6 separate regions of the Homo sapiens genome follow, and all the other regions are linked to region 4. Evidence: promoter capture Hi-C in 16 types of primary human blood cells and fetal thymus (Javierre and others, 2016). All regions are on one chromosome and are shown on one strand. Each heading gives the region's core, a stretch centred on a gene start or on the middle of the fragment in contact. The rest is flanking DNA. Distances are from core to core; before and after follow the strand shown.

What was found. The method cuts DNA at HindIII sites, captures the fragments that hold promoters and counts their contacts. A CHiCAGO score of 5 or more calls a contact.
Region 1: a fragment that was not itself captured here is called in contact with the fragment with the promoter of MESTIT1 in region 4 in 9 of 17 cell types (megakaryocytes, fetal thymus, naive CD8 T cells and 6 more); the score reaches 11.6 in megakaryocytes.
Region 2: a contact is called between a fragment that was not itself captured here and the fragment with the promoter of MESTIT1 in region 4, in 10 of 17 cell types (megakaryocytes, naive CD8 T cells, M1 macrophages and 7 more). The highest score is 14.5, in megakaryocytes.
Region 3: a contact is called between a fragment that was not itself captured here and the fragment with the promoter of MESTIT1 in region 4, in 1 of 17 cell types (endothelial precursors). The highest score is 6.5, in endothelial precursors.
Region 5: a contact is called between a fragment that was not itself captured here and the fragment with the promoter of MESTIT1 in region 4, in 2 of 17 cell types (endothelial precursors and erythroblasts). The highest score is 6.4, in endothelial precursors.
Region 6: a contact is called between a fragment that was not itself captured here and the fragment with the promoter of MESTIT1 in region 4, in 1 of 17 cell types (megakaryocytes). The highest score is 6.7, in megakaryocytes.

What each region holds. Positions count from the first base shown.
Region 1 is chr7:130,208,817-130,211,516 of GRCh38, forward strand. The region is part of intron 1 of SSMEM1 (serine rich single-pass membrane protein 1); the gene reads left to right. Among named protein-coding and RNA genes, the nearest start is that of SSMEM1, 2.3 kb to the left of the region's middle. The HindIII fragment of the contact is 3,567 bases long and covers 1-2,700 here.
Region 2 is chr7:130,226,558-130,229,257 of GRCh38, forward strand. No RefSeq gene overlaps it. Among named protein-coding and RNA genes, the nearest start is that of SSMEM1, 20 kb to the left of the region's middle. The HindIII fragment of the contact is 226 bases long and covers 1,334-1,559 here.
Region 3 is chr7:130,770,147-130,772,846 of GRCh38, forward strand. All of the region lies in intron 3 of LOC105375508 (a long non-coding RNA gene), which reads left to right. Among named protein-coding and RNA genes, the nearest start is that of KLF14, 37 kb to the left of the region's middle. The HindIII fragment of the contact is 737 bases long and covers 1,039-1,775 here.
Region 4 is chr7:130,489,692-130,492,391 of GRCh38, forward strand. MESTIT1 (MEST intronic transcript 1, antisense RNA) reads right to left here and starts at 1,286. Exons shown (of 2, transcript NR_004382.2): 1 at 1,151-1,286; 2 at 1-276. It overlaps MEST (mesoderm specific transcript), which reads left to right and starts at 2,394. Exons shown (of 12, transcript NM_002402.4): 1 at 2,394-2,648. The coding sequence starts at 2,623. RefSeq lists a silencer at 1,222-1,431. The HindIII fragment of the contact is 7,997 bases long and covers 1-1,861 here.
Region 5 is chr7:130,750,095-130,752,794 of GRCh38, forward strand. All of the region lies in intron 3 of LOC105375508 (a long non-coding RNA gene), which reads left to right. Among named protein-coding and RNA genes, the nearest start is that of KLF14, 17 kb to the left of the region's middle. The HindIII fragment of the contact is 658 bases long and covers 1,021-1,678 here.
Region 6 is chr7:130,188,765-130,191,464 of GRCh38, forward strand. All of the region lies in intron 6 of TMEM209 (transmembrane protein 209), which reads right to left. Among named protein-coding and RNA genes, the nearest start is that of TMEM209, 15 kb to the right of the region's middle. The HindIII fragment of the contact is 4,523 bases long and covers 1-2,700 here.

The sequences.
Region 1 (2,700 bases), core at 158-2,657, 280 kb before region 4:
ACTTTATCAGGACTGTGATGCTTCCAACATATTATGAGTAACCAAGCTCTTTTTTTTTTTTCTTGAGATGGAGTCTTGCTCTGTCACCCAGGCTGGAGTGAAGTGGTGCAATCTTGGCTCACTACAACCTCCGCCTCCCGGATTCAAGTGACTCTCCTGCCTCAGCCTCCCTTGTAGCTGGGACCACAGGCGCAAGCCACCACGCTCTGCTAACTTCTGTATTTTTAGTACAGATGGGGTTTCACCATGTTGGCCAGGCTGGTCTCAAACTCCTGACCTCAAGTAGTCTGCCCGCTTTGGCCTCCCAAAGTGCTGGGATTACAGGCATGAGCCACCGCGCCCAGCCGTAACCAAGCTCTTATAATTTGCTGACATGATATCCTTGCTGGCCATTAATACCAGGCTGATGATTAAGAAAACCACCATCATTTAGCATTATAGCCATAGGCCTGGGCTGGCAGTGGTAAGACTTAATGCTCTATGAGCTCGGATGGGGTGGAGAAGGTTTGTTATGTCCATGCCAGCTGGATTCCATTCTAATCAAAGACTCTTTGATAACCACCACCTCCTGGTGAAGAACTTTCATCTAAAGTCTAAATGCTTCTTAAGGTAAATACTTTGCCAAAAGGAGATTTAGAATAATGATAGCTTATATGTGTCTTAGACTCCCTAGCTAAGTATATTGAATTTGGCCTGGCAAGCAAAGCTACTTTAGAAAATTACCAAAAAAATTTCATCATGAATTAAGAGGTCTAAGCTATTTTTTTTATTTTTATTTTTTGAGACGGAGTCTCGCCCTGTTGCCCAGGCTGGAGTGCAATGGCACGATCTTGGCTCACTGCAACCTCAGCCTCCTGGGTTCCAGTGATTCTCCTGCCTCAGCCTCCTGAGTAGCTGGGATTATAGGCGTGCATCTCCACGCGCAGCTAATTTTTGTATTTTTAGTAGAGATGGAGTTTCACCATGTTGGCCAGGCTGGTGTCGAACTCCTGACCTCGTGATCCACCCGCCTCGGCCTCCCAAAGTGCTGGCATTACAGGCGTGAGCCACCACGCCTGGCCCAGTCTAAGCTATTTTTTCTGCTCCCTTGCTTGCATCAGCTCTTGGGAGTCATACAGCCTTGAGCTTCCAGGACCTCAAGAGAGCATGTGGTCCAGCCTTCTGTTTGTAGGCAAGTAAGTTATCATTATCCCTCCCCCACTCATTTTTTTATTGATAAGCCCCAAGTAAATTAAGTGACTTGTCCAATGTCACAAAAGTGTTAGTGACAGAAGGGGAATATACCCAGATTTCCTGTCAAATTATTTGTTTGCTTCAAAGCATAGTTTGAAATGTCCACTTAGATCTACTCAGTCCTGATTAAAACCTTAATTATTTTAGAGGTTTCGTTTTTCACTTTGTACCCTTGTGGCAGCTACAATCAGCTAGACTGCTTCTTCTGAAGGGTCCCAGATTTGAAATCTGAGAACAATATGAGAGCTAGTAAAGGAGGATGGAATTTTTCCTTCACTTTGAACTTCTTCATTTTCTCTGCTAAACTATGAGGCTTTATTTACAAACCTTGAAGTAATGGTAAAAGCACGATGGAAATGTGGTGGTAATTATCCTCCAACATGAAGCACGCTGATTTCCTCTGAATTTGCCACTTTTTAAAGTGGCATTTACCCTTTTGCTTTCAGACTATAAATACTATATTTAGTTTATATTTTTATTTTGTGTTTATTCAGATTGCTAGTGCTGGTATTTTTCTGGACAATGGTAATCCAAACACCTTATTTTGCTTATGTGGAAACTGAGCTTAAGAGGTGTTAAGTGGCTTGGAAAAATCAAGAGTTGTTAGTGGCAGAAAGAGAGCCACGGCCCACATTTTCTACTCTGCCCCTCAGGGCAGGCACTCCTGCTGTTTTCACTCACTGAGTCACAAAGACAGTTAATAAAATGCTTTTCGTAACCACAGTTCATATGATCCCACTTAGTTTAATGCAAAATCTTTCTTTTGATTTTGTGGCTATGTTTTGATTTGACATCAAATGTGAGAGCTTTCTGTGGAAATGATATAAGCCTAATAAGTGTTTTTAAATACCTTCTCCTGTCTATTACAAAAGTACACATTATATAGAAAATGTGGAAATTATAGGGCAGAAGACAAAATAAAATAAAAATCACTCCAGATTATGTAGAAATAACCAACTACTGTTAACTTTTAGGTTTATAAACTTCCAATTATTTTGATTTTCTTTACATATATTAAATTTATTTTTTTCCTTTTCTATAACCTAAGTGATACATATTAAATTTAAAATATTTAAGCCTCTTCCAAAAGCATTTTTTATAAAGTGGTATCTTTTTTTTTTTTTTTTTGAGACAGAGTCTCGCTGTCACCCAAGCTGGAGTGCAGTGGTGCAATCTCTGCTCACTGCAAGCTCCGCCTCTCAGGTTCACACCATTCTCCTGCCTCAGCCTCCTGAGTAGCTGGGACTACAGGCACCCACCACCACACCCGGCTAATTTTTTTTGTATTTTAAGTAGAGACAGGGTTTCACCGTGTTAGCCAGGATGGTCTCGATCTCCTGACCTTGTGATCTGCCCGCCTCAGCCTCCCAAAGTGCTGGGATTACAGGCATGAGCCACCGTGTCTGGCCAGAAAGTGGTATCTTAAAAGTGAACTCCGCTTTCAAGATTTTTGGAGAATGATTGCTG
Region 2 (2,700 bases), core at 197-2,696, 260 kb before region 4:
TTCCACCTTATGACATCAGCTTGCCTCCTCTGCAGGGGTTAAGCCTGGCCAGCTTAAGACAAAAAGGGAGAAATGGAGACTTAGCTGGTGAGGATAGAAATGAACTTTGCACTGACTGTTGAGAAACAAGGGACAGTAGGAACTAAAACAGTGAGGTTGATGGCCAAGGGTTTGAGTGGAGGAAAAGGAGGAGGGGATCTGGGTTCAGACCGCATGGGGAGTAAGAACTCTGATGTGAGTGGGCTACCTTGCTCCATCATCCCAGGACATGGTGAACCATAGAAAGAGGAGCAAAACCATGGTCAGGTACAGATCTGGTGAGAAGAGACGGTTATGAAAGTGGGACTGCAGACACTAGTCATGGCTGGATGTTGCTTTTGTGCAGAGTCTGGTGTGGGCTCTACACCAAGCTGAACACCATCAAGAAAACCTGATAGCAACTACGACTCTTCCCCAGTGCCACTCCTTTATCTAATGAAGGAGTGCTATCTTCCAACACATTCTAGAAGTAGTACTTTGAAAATGACAACCCATTAGCAGATTGTGAAATAAATTTAGTGGGTCATGATTCGCATTTATTAAATAATAAACAGAAAGTTGGTTGGGTGTGGTGGCTTACGCCTATAATCCCAACACTTTGGGAGGCCAAGGTGGGCGGATTACTTGAGGCCAGAAGTTCGAGACCAACCTGGCCAACATGGCGAAACTCTGTCTCTATTAAAAATACAAAAATTAGCCGGACATGGTGGCACACGCCTGTAATCCCAGTTGCTTGGGAGGCTGAGGCAGGAGAATCATTTGAACTTGAGAGGCAGAGGTTGCAGTGAGCTGAGATCATGCCATTGCACTCCAGCCTGGGCAACAGAGCAAGACTCTGTCTAAAAAAAATAAATAAATAAAAATAATAGAAAGTAATAGCATATCACACATAACAAGGGTAAGTATTATTAAGTGTGTGTGTACTGAATTGCAATGTAAAATGTATTTCTTATTATGTGTGATAAGAGAAAAGGGCTGAGCACAGTGGCTCACACCTATAATCTCAGCATTTTAGGAAGCTGAGGCAGGAGGATCACTTGAGCCCAGGAATTAGAGACCAGCCTGGGCAACATAGTGAGACCCCTGTCTCTAGAAAAATATTTAAAAATAGAAAAAAAAAAGATAAAAACAAAAGTCACTGCTCTAGAGTAGTTTTCTTTGTAGATTTTCCTGTATCATCTAGCAATACCACTAAATTAGTGAAGGCACTATCACTCCATGCTTTCCCAATTGTCTGCTAGGAATTAGTAAATCCTCACCCACACTATAGGATGGACCGTCTCAATTAGTGAAAAGCTTGAATTAAATTATACTACTTTAAAAGAACTTCAGGTTTATTATTTTCAAATACAAAAAGTGGAAGCAAGCTAACCAACTGTTGCCTGGTACACAGGGGTGGGTTTTGGCTTGGTGAATAGACAAGAGTTATTTGTAATTGACATTTCAAAGAAGCCTAAGAAACAGGCCAGCCTTTGTTTAAATCATAATTACCCTGTTTGTATGTAAAAGAATACTTCTAAAGCTTTTCAAAACAACTGGTTCTTTTAAGCAGATAATTATTCCCCTTCCAATCTTGTTTACACTACTATTCAGAACTTCAGTGAACTTTTTTTTTCATAGATAGTACAAAGGTTAACTTCAGCAAACCCTTCCTCAAATTATCACAAATTCCCAATTAGTGGATTCTAAACAGGGTTTCCTTGTAACAATATGCCGAAGACTTGCATGATGTGTTTTTTATTGCTTTGAATAACATCTGACAAGTTTCCAAGTACCAGGCCACCTGGATATTCTCTATCTGTCAGGAAAAGATAGAGGTCAAAGAGGTGGGTGGGAGGGTGGGGGAAATATAAATCAGGCCCATACATTCCTATACTATTAGAGGAAGACAAAAGGAAGAAAATGCTTTTTTCCCCCCCAAATATCTATTACATACCAACTGAATCTTAAATAATAGGCACTTTTTGGTGTAAAGAAGAGTTGCACTTACCATCTAAATTTAACAAAACCTCAGATGAAAATAGAAAGCTGACCTTTTTTGTATGTAGACTGGCAGTTATTGGAGAGGCCCAGGGAAGTTGGCAAGAGAAAGATGCATTATAAATAAATTATACTTGTCCTTTCTCGTTATTTCTTATTGCAAATTTCCACTCAGTGCACAAAGGGATAATGCATGAAATCCTTTTTTTAAACAAAAATTTTATGATCCTGAGCAATACTGTTTTCCAGTTCTTTCATCTTCTGAGCTCGGCCTTTTTCACAAGCTGTTCCTCAAGCCGCCTTATTGCAGGGGCCTGTTGTCTCTAATTGTCTTTGTTTATTAGGGCCCTCTGTCACCATGAAGTTTCACGTGTTCAAATCTTGATTTAGCAGTGAGAACACCAGGCTGAGAGCTAACTCTGCTACTAATTAGTGTAAATCACAAAAGGAGAAGTGGAGAGATAAAAACCAGGTCCTAGTGGAAGGGTCTACAGCCAGGGTTAGTAAGACTGACTGGCAGGTCAGAGGATTGAGGAAGAGACGAAAGGGCTTGGAGAAATGCCACTTAGGGTCAGCGTCTTTTTGTCTCTTTTCTCTGATTGTACCCCTTCAGATACAGAAAGGGTCTGAAGTAGCCTATGTTGATTCTTTTCCTTTCTTCCATTTTGTTCCATTGTTCCT
Region 3 (2,700 bases), core at 157-2,656, 280 kb after region 4:
TTAGACTGCTTTTTTTTACTTACCAATATGTATTTAAAGTTCTTTCATGTCTTTTTATGGTTTAATAGCTCATTTTCTTTTATCACTGAATAATAGTCCATTGTATGGATATACAACAGTTTGTTTATCCATCCACTTATTTAAGGGAATCTTGGTTGCTTCCAGTTTCTGGAAAGTATGAATAAAGCTGCTATAAACGTTCATTTACAGGTTTCTGTGTGCACATAAGTTTTCAACTTAATTGGGTAAATACCTAGGAGCACAGATGCTGTATTGTAATGTAAAACTATATTTACGTTTGTATGAAATTGCCAAACTGTCTTCCAAAGTGGCTGTAACAGTTTGCATTCCCGTCAGCAATGACTGGGAGTTCCTGTTGCTCCACATCTTGCTCCACATCCTCATCATCATTTGATATTTTCAGAATTTTGGATTTTAGCCATTTTAATAGTGTAGCAGTATCTCATTGTTATCCTAATTTGCAATTACCTAATGACAATTTATTTTGTTTTCATATGCTTATTTGTTGCCATATATTCTCTGGTGAGACATCTGTTCTGATCTTTTGCCTGTTTTAAAATTAGATTGTTTGTTTACTTATTACTGAGTTTTGTTTTGTTTTGAGACAGAATCTCGTTCTGTCACCCAGGCTGGAGTGCAGTGTTGCAGTCTTGGCTCACTGCGAGCTCCGCCTCCCGGGTTCACGCCATTCTCCTGCCTCAGCCTCCGGAGTAGCTAGGACTACAGGCGCCCACCACCATGCCTGGCTAATTTTTTTGTATTTTTAGTAGAGAACGGGTTTCACTGTGTTAGCCAGGATGGTCTCGATCTCCTGACCTTGTGATTTGCCTGCCTCGGCCTCCCAAAGTGCTGGGATTACAGGCGTGAGCCACTGTGCCCGGCCACGTATTACTGAGTTTTAAGAATTATTTGTCTATTTTGGATATGTGTTCTATCAAATGTGTGTTTCACAAATATTTTCTTCCAGTGTGTGGCTTGCCTTTGCATTCTCTTAACAATGTATGTCACAGAGCAAAAAGCTTTAATTTTAATGAAGTTCAAGCTGTCAATTTTTTATTTCATGAATTGCGGTTTTGGTGTTCTATCTAAAAACTCATTGCCAAACCCAGGGTCATCTACATTTTCCACTATGTTAAATATTTCAGGCAGTTTTATAGCTTTCTGTTTTACATAGAGCTATGATCCATTTTGAGTTAATTTTTATGAAAGATGTAAGGTCTGTATCTAGATTCTTTCTTTCTTTCATTTTTTTTTTCCTGCATGTGGATGCCCACTTGCTTCAGCACCATTCGGTGAAAACACCATTCTTTTTCCATTGAATTGCCTTAACTCATTTGTCAGACATCAGTTGACTATATTTGTATGGGTCTATCTCTGAGCTCTCCATCTGTTCTACTGATCTATTTGTCTATTCTTTGCTTTTGTTTTGTTTTTTGAGACTGGGTCTCTGTTGCCCAGTGGTGTGATCCCAGCTCACTGCAAACTTGACCTCCCCAGACTGAGGTGGTTTCCCCACCTCAGCCTCCTGAGTAGCTGGGACCACAGGCATGTGCCACCAAACCTGGCTAATTTTTGTATTTTTTGTAGATATGAGGGATGGGGTCTCACCATGTTGCCAGACTGGTCTTGAACTCCTGGGCTCAAGTGATCCACCCACCTTGGCCTTCCAAAATGCAGGGATTATGGGCATGAGCCACCACACCTGTCCTATTTGTCTTTTCCTTCACTAATACCCCATTATCTTGATTACTGTAAGCTTTATAGTAGGTCGTGGGGTCAGGTTGTGTCAGTCCTTTGATTTTGTTCTTCTTTAGTATTTTCTGAGTATTTTGGATCTTTTGCCTTTCATATAAACTTTAGAATCAGTTTATCAATGTACACAAAATAACTGGCTTGGATTTTGATCAAGATTGCATTGAATCTATATATTAAGTTGAGAAGAACTGGCATCTTAAAAATATTGTCTTCTTATCCATAAACATAGACTCTCTCTCCATTTATTTAGATCTTCTTTAATTTCTTTCACCACAGTTTTGTAATTTGTCTCACAAAGATCTTGTAAAAATTTTGTTAAATTTATACCTATGTGTTTCATTGCTTTTTGGTACTAATGTAAATGATATTATGTTTTAAATTTTTAACTCTAATAGTTCATATTGACATATGATGATATGTCATATACATAGAATTGAGAGATTTCTATGTACTGCCTCTGTTTGTTACATAATTAAATCCTCATAAAAATTCCATAAGGTAGGTTCTTTTAGTATCCACATGATATGGTTTGCCTGTGTCCCCACCCAAATCTCATCTTGAATTGTAGCTCCCACAATTCCCACATGTCGTGGGAGGAACCTGGTGGGAGTTGATTGAATTATGGGGATGGGTCATTCCTGCGCTGTTCTTGTCATAGTGAATGAGTCTCACGAGATCTGATGGTTTTGAAAAAATGGAAGTTTCCCTGCACAAGCTCTCTCTTTGCTTGCTGCCATCCATGTAAGATGTGACTTGCTCCCCCTTGCCTTGTGCTATGATTGTGAGGCTTCCGCAGCCACATGGAACTGTAAGTCCAATTAAACCTCTTTCTTTTGTAAATTGTGCAGTTTTTTCAGCAGCTTGAAAATGGACTAATACACCACATTTTGGAGATAAGAAAAATTAAGACAAAGTTTAAACGAC
Region 4 (2,700 bases), core at 36-2,535:
CCTTCAAGGAAGTTTTTCCTAACTCCTCGGCCAGACATCAATAATGTCTGAAGGGAGGATTTCTCCCGAGTGCCAGACTTGGAATTCCTGTTGTCTTCAGGAGCTCTCCCTGGCGCTCCCTCCTTCCCCCAGGGCCTTTAAACTGTTTCTCCTCCAGTCTGCCCACTTGATCCATGTGGGTAGACATGTTCCATGGCCTTCAGAATAAGATCTTTTGTGGGGTACTCAGTCCATAAACAGAAAATTGCCTTCATCTTGGATGCTGGTGTTTCTGGCCTGGTGAGAATGAAAGTGTGGAATTTGTTTGTAGGACTCAAAGTTTCCATTAACAATAAATATGAAAAATATATAATGCAAAGGCTTTTGTTATTGTTATTATTAAAATAGGAAAGCCTTTACCTTTTTGGAAGAACCGATTTAGATTTTGCAGAGTAATTCAGTCTTTAAAAGGTAGTGGTAGTTAAAATAGGTAATCTTTGACTTGTAAAGAGACTAATTTAAATTTTGTTAAGTAACCAATTAAGGCCATAAAGAGTTTAAATCCATCTGTGGCTTCTCATTTTCTCTAGAACAAATTCCTAATTCCCTACGATGAAATTCTCTTGCTATCCTAATTTTTTGCCGGCTCAAAGGACTAACCGTTTTCCCCAAACACGCGGCCCTGAGCCTCCGGTGCTTTGCGAAAGCCGTCCCCTCCGGCTGGAATGTTCTTTGTCTCTCTGGTAAATGTCTATTCATCATTCAAGACCACCCTTCGCCCCTCCCCTTAATTACTTCCTCCCCTGTGCGCCCTCAAATTCTTGTACTCATTCAAGCAGTATTTATTAGGGGCCAGCTTTGTGGCCGGCACCGTGGCGGGCTCTGGGGCTACAAAAGGTGAATAATACTTGGGCTCTGCCTCTGAGGGCCTTACACGTTAGGGAGGAGTGGGTCAACTGCCACAAACGTCGCTAGGAAATTAAAAGGAAAATTTTACAAAGTGGCAGTTCTTGTCTGTCTTCCCCTCCAGATGGCCCGTGTGTTGTTTTCGGGCCGGGGCTATTTCTCATTTATTTCGCACCCCCGGTTCTTAGTGCCCTGTAGGTGCTAAATCAGCATTTGTTTCATGAGTGCTTTTTCTGGGGGCAACCAGACCCCTGCAGAAGTGTACCTGTGTTGTGCCAGAGGTTCTGATGATAGGCTTATAGGCGGTAGTTTCCTCAGTGTCCGTGGGTCGCCCCCGGTCCCGGGTTGGATGCCCCGCGGTCCAGCACCGAACCTTTCGGGGTGCAGAGTTGCAGAGCCGCGGAGGGCCCGGGCCGTGCGCAGCCGAAGGGAGGCCTGCAGCGCCCCCTCTGGATGCAGCGGGCACCGGCCGGCCGCCCCGCTCACCCGCTCGCACCCCACGTTTGTTCACCAGTATTTCAGTTTACGGTCAGAAAATGAACACAGACACTTCGTGATACTCTACACTTTTCAAAGGCGTAAGGGATGCCTTTTAAAGGATTATGGATTAGAAAAATTCCTCCCTCTTTCTTGTGCCTCTGGGCCCTTGCATTGTGATTCTATCTTACGTAAATAAAGGGGGCTTTGCTCTCCTAATTGTGCCCACTGTTCTGTGCAGCGCGGACCGGCGCATGCAGCGAGCGGGGCTGCGAGGGCGCTGCTGTGGCCAGGCGTCTGGCATGCTGACCACGTCGCGCTGCTGTAAAGGAAACCTGCCCCGCGCAGCGGCGGTGGCTGGAGCGGGAGAAACCGGACTTTGTGCAACTTTGGCCATAGTGGCCATCCCATGAATCTGTTTACTAGCTTGGTGGTGGGTCCAACAGAGCTTGTTGCTCCCTAGCCGCTTGCTCGTGCCCTTGGTGGTTACCGGTAGTTAAGCTTAGGGCGCATAGGGCCCTCGTGGCTCGCCACCTCTCACGGTTCAGTACCCACGCTTCGAACGAGGGATGGGAGCAGGCGCCACGGCCGGCACCCCAGAGCCCTGCTGCCCCTTAGTTCGAGCGGCCATCCTCCTGTGGGGCTTGTGGGCAGCCTGTGGGGTTTGTGGGCGGCCTGTGGGGTTTGTGGGTGGTCTAAGGAAAGAGTTGGGGCACTCAGGGGTCTGCTGTTTTTGCCCGTGGCCTTAACTCATCAGGGGAGGGTTTCTGCAGCAGAATCTCGGGCTCAGGGTTGGCGGTTAACGAGGGAGCAGCGGGGTCTTGGGGAGGGGGCTCGACACCCCTGAAGGTGCCCCCTAAAGGAGCCACTGTTAGAGGGGCACCCCATCTTTGTGGCCATGGCGGTGGTAGAGCGGCTGGGAGGGGCTCTGCGGCGAGCAAGGGAGCAGGCGGTAGGGGTTCTGCGGCGATGGGCGGGCTAGGGGCGGGGCGCGGGTGGGCTCTAAAAGTCGGTGCCCACTCGCTCCGCGCTGCCGCGGCAACCAGCACACCCCGGCACCTCCTCTGCGGCAGCTGCGCCTCGCAAGCGCAGTGCCGCAGCGCACGCCGGAGTGGCTGTAGCTGCCCGGCGCGGCGCCGCCCTGCGCGGGCTGTGGGCTGCGGGCTGCGCCCCCGCTGCTGGCCAGCTCTGCACGGCTGCGGGCTCTGCGGCGCCCGGTGCTCTGCAACGCTGCGGCGGGCGGCATGGGATAACGCGGCCATGGTGCGCCGAGATCGCCTCCGCAGGTGAGTGTGCGGTGGGAACGAGGGGGTGTGGCTGGCGGCCCTGGGACTAGGG
Region 5 (2,700 bases), core at 100-2,599, 260 kb after region 4:
CTAGCCACTGGCTTCCGCCATTTGTATGTGGTGTTCTATTTCTAATGTGTAGGCCAGCTTATAAAGTTAAACACACATTTACCACATGATCCAGTAATCCCTCTCCTAGGTAGTTAGCCAAGAGAGCTGAAAACTTATATTCACCCAGAAACCTTTATGTGACTGTTCATGATGGTTTTATTCATAATTGCCCAAAATCAAAAACCAGAAACAACCCAGATGTTGTTCTGCTGGTGAACGGACCAACGCACTGGCACTTCATGCAATGGAATGATAATCAGCAATGAAAAGGGGCAGACTGTGAGACACACAGCAGTGTGGATGGACTTCATCTGCATTATGCCAGGAGAAAAAGTCAGATAAAGGCTACCTACTTTATGGTTCCATTTGTATGAGGAATCCCTTAAAAACAGATCCGTCGTTGCCACAGGCTGGCTGTGGGAGGAAGGGCAGGAATGATTTTGGAGGGTTACAGAACTGTTCAGTATCTTGTTTGAGGGGGTGCTTACATGACTGTATAAATTTGTTAAAAACTCATAGAGTGGTACACAAAGAGAGAATTTTGCTGTTTATGAATTTCAAAATGTGAATTTAAAAATTACTGTGAAAAAATGTAGACTATCTTGGTAATTGCACAGTAGGATAGGAAGGTGTGAAAACTCAGACGCTGTGAAGGAAAAGACTTACAGATCTGATGACTACAAAATATTAAACTTTTATAGGACAAAAGTCACCCTAAACAAAAAATTAGGCCATCGGCTTGTGAATATATATATTCAGCAAATATTACAGACAAAGGACTAACATCCATAATGCAAAGGGTGCCTACAAATTAACATGTAAAAAGGTAAATACTATAAAAGACAAGTGGGCAAAGTACATGAGGTACAGGGTAAGTATAGGGAGTTCACAGAAACCAAAGAGTCAGTAGCTCGGAAGAGATTCACAACCTCACTTTCCATCAGTGAGCTGTGAATGAAAGCAATGATACAATATCATTTTCAACCATCAGATAGGCAAAGCTTTTAAAGATTGTTAAAACCCAACACCAGGAAGGGTGTGAGGCAACAGTCCCGTAGAGTTTTTGGGAGTGTATACATCTGTACAACTTTTTGAAAGATAATTTGGTAGTAGCTATCAAAAACCCAAACGTGCATACTTTTTGACTCAGCAATTTCACTTCTAGGTATTAATACTATAAAATACTCACATAGGTGCACAAATATATATATAAAAGATTTTTTATTAGAACATCATAGTAGTCAAAAATAGGGACCAAATTAAACATCTATCAGCAGAGGAATGGTTACATAAATGAAGTGAGTCCGTAGGGTGGGCTGCTGTGACAGGATGGATGACACATATGTGAGTACTGATAGAGTACTGTGTAAATTTATTTATAATGAAATGCATTATTAAGTGAAAAAAGCAAATAAGAAAACATGCATATTGTCCTATTTAAAAAAAATTACAAATCTACATGCACACACACATACACACACATAGAAGGTCTGGGTAGATACACATCAAAGCTCAGGCAGTGGTTCTTAAAGTAGGGGATCATGAAGGAAAGGTACACATTTAACTCAACAAAATTTGGTCTTACTGGAACTTTAAAAATGCAAATGTGTTTATGTTTTGTTTTATTTTGCTTAACAAATATCTTGGTATTTTACTAAGCTTTTAAGTTAGTGAAATAAAGAGGCATAATTCAAACATATTTATACACTTTAAATTAACTAAGCCCAAGTAGAAAACAAAAAGGTATATAATTCCCAAATCATGAATGAGAAGAAAGAATAAATTTGATTACTACAGTAAAAAAAGAAATAAGAAACAGGAAGTATTACAAATAGAAACCATAAAATAAAGTGACAGAACAAACACCAAGTATAACTTTTGTCATGACAGATGTGGCTTAAAAATATCTTTCAAAACACAAAAGACTCAGATTGAGTAAAAAAAATACAATTTAGTCGTAAGCTGTTTACAAAAGGAGAAACTGCAAAATGAAATTGACAGAGAAGGTAGAAAAGTAATGAGATGGGCAAGAATATCAGAGGCAAATGCAACCCAAAGAACCCATCCATGCATGCTAATATTAAAATCACATGAAATAGAATTCAGGATGAGAATATCAAATGGAACAAATATAATTATTTTTATATGAATAAGTGATATAATGTACTATGAAGGCAATACAGTCAATATAAATGCTTCCAAATAGGGAACTGGTGAATTATATTATGATACCTATTTATTTACAGTGAACCTCTACACAGCCAGGAAATTGCTAATGTAGAAAACATATAATGACCTGCAAATGTTACAAACTATAAAGCAAAAACAAGGTTGTATACTGTAAGTATGACATGATCTCAATTTCGTTTTAACATTTTATTAAAAAGAAAAACGACTGGAAGGCTCACAGTATCAGGGTGCCATGCGGAGGGAGGACAGACATAGCGAAGCAGTCCTGAAACAACACTCGGTCACGTGTGAGGACATAATAATGGGTGTTCAGCCTGGTGGCTGGACAGCTCTGCCTTCAGACCAGCTTTAGCTGCTATGTCTTTTCCCCTTTGTTTTCCAGCCTTCTCACTTCCTATATCTCTTGGCTCCGTAACAGGACTGCCTGGTAATAGCTCATAATCCTTTTTCCTGAGTCTAGTGTGTACCATTGTGAGCTATCACTCTTCC
Region 6 (2,700 bases), core at 119-2,618, 300 kb before region 4:
GATCCTATTTTATTATATATTACCGACAAAGAGACAAAGCAGCATCACGTATCTCCTGATGTGATACACTGAAAAGGACATGCCACCACCCATGTTGTATTCTTGCCAGAAAATAATATTTAAACGGAATCTAACAGTAACAAAATGATCAAACAAATCTGAATTTTCAAAACAACAGCCTCATCTCTTCAAAATGTAAATGTCATAAAAGAAAACAAAACAAAAAATCCCACAAAACCCACACTATCCAAATGGTTTCGATTTAAGGAGACAACAGAAGCACAAGTAAATGCAATATGTGATACCTGATTGGATCCTGCATCAATAAAAGAAAAAAAAAGCACTACAAGGGTCAGTATTGGGTCAACTGGGGAAATGTGAATATGAACACCCATAGTATCTTAAGCATGACAATCATATTGTCATTATTCATTTATTTATTTTTTCTTTGAGACAGAGTCTCACTCTGTCACCCAGGCTGGAGTGCAGTGGTGTGATCTCGGTTCACTGCAACCTCCGCCTCCCGGATTCAAGCGATTCTCCTGCCCCAGCCTCCAGAGTGGCTGGGATACAGGCTCGCGTCACCAAGCCTCGCTAATTTTTTAGTAGAGGTGGGGTTTCACCATGTTGGTCAGAAAATCCTGACCTGGTCTCAAAATCCTGACCTCATGATCCACCTGCCTCAGCCTCCCAAAGTGCTGGGATTACAAGCGTGAGCCACTGAGCCCAGCCCATATTGTAGTTATAAAGGAAGATGTCTTGGTCTTAGGAGATGCATGTGAAATATTCAGGAATGAAGTGGAATGATGCCCGCAACTTCCTTTCAAATGATTCAGCAAAAAAGTGTGCATGAGAGAGAGAATATGAGGGCCTGGTTTTTCACTACTGGAGAAAGTTACAAATACGAAAAGTGGGGAGGACAGAATAAACTGTATAGCTGGACTGGAACTAGAAGTAACATTATAAACTCATGGTTTTTTAAAAACATAGAATAACACATATAGATGTGTGTGTGTACATATATCTGTGTATATGTCCATACAAATATTTCCTAGAGGACCTGGAGTAATGATACCTCAATAATAACAGTGTGCCCAGTGCCCAGATAATAATTTCTAAGTATCATTCTCCATTAAAAGGAATCAGGGCTCTTAGAGAAACAGACTGACTCTGGAGCTAGCCAGGGAAAACACAAAATGAGCCTGACCTATTTTGTGGTGCTAGAAAGGTGGCGCGGGCAGGGGGATTAGCTCAAAGAATGATAGTGTCATGTCAAAAGAACAGAGAAGTCAGCTTACAGAGGATCCCACTAGCCCAATCTGAGACAATCAAATCGTCAACATAAGTGAATGATTAGGGAGAAGAAACCTTTATCTTACAGAATACCAACAAATAAATGTAAAAGGCAGCTGCACAATAATGTAAATGTACTTACCACCACTTAATTAAACACTTCAAATGGCTAATATTGGGCCAGGCGCGGTGGCTCACGGCTGTAATTCCCAGCACTTTGGAGGCCGAGGCGGGCAGATCACCTGAGGTCAGGAGTTTGAGACCAGCCTGGCCAACAAGGGGAAACCCTGTCTCTACTAAAAATACAAAAATTAGCCAGGCATGGTGGCAGATGCCTGTAATCCTAGCTACTTGGAAAGCTGAGGCAGGAGAATCGCTTGAACCTGGGAGGCAGAAGTTGCAGTAAGCCGAGATCGCACCACTGCACTCCAGCCTGGGCGACAGAGCCAAGACTCCATCTCAAAAAAAGAAAAAAAAAAGGCTAATATTGTAAATTTTATGTATACTGTATTACAGTAAAAAAAAAAAAGGAAAAATGTTAAAGGAATAAACATAGAAGAAATGATGAAATTGGAAAGCTCCATGACAACCAACATAGTAATAATTTTGAAAATAATCTTAAAAGGATGTTAGAACTAGTAAGTCAAAGTTTGATGGGGTCAGGCACAATGGCTTACGCCTATAATCCCAGCACTTTTGGAGGCCAAAGTGGGTGGATTGTGTGAGCTCAGGAGTTCGAGACCAGCCTGGGCAACATGGCAAAACCCGGTCTCTACTAAAAACACAAAAATTAGCATGGCATGGTGGCATGCATCTGTAGTCCCAGCTACTCAGGAGGCTGAGGTGGGAGAGGCACCTGAGCGCTGAATTCAAGGCTGCAGCGAGCCAAGACTGCACCACTGCAACAGTGAGACCTAGTCTCAAAAAAAAAAAAAAAGTTTGATGGGGACCAAATAACTATATAGTTTTAGATCAGTAGCTTCCCACAAAATACTTATTAATCATTTATTAATTTGCACAAAATACTTAATTTTCGAAAACCCATGGGTATAGAAGGGCTAAAAGTATAGGGATAGAGATAGATATACCAGCCAGATACTAACCAAAAGGAAATTAATATAGATGTGTCAATGTCAGACAAAATAGACTTTAAGGCAAAAAGCCTAAGAGATAAAGATAAGTGGCATAATTCACCAGAATGATATTCACAATTCTGAATTTACATGCATTTAACGTAATCTCGTATGTATACTTAGCAAATCTGACAGAATTGCAAGAAAACATTTAATGGAAGACAATCAACGGGAGCTTTTGGCACACTTTCTTAATAACCAATAGATAAAGCAGATAAAAATTAGTAAGATAAAGTATTTAAGAATACCATCAAGAAGTGTGACAGTGAACAAA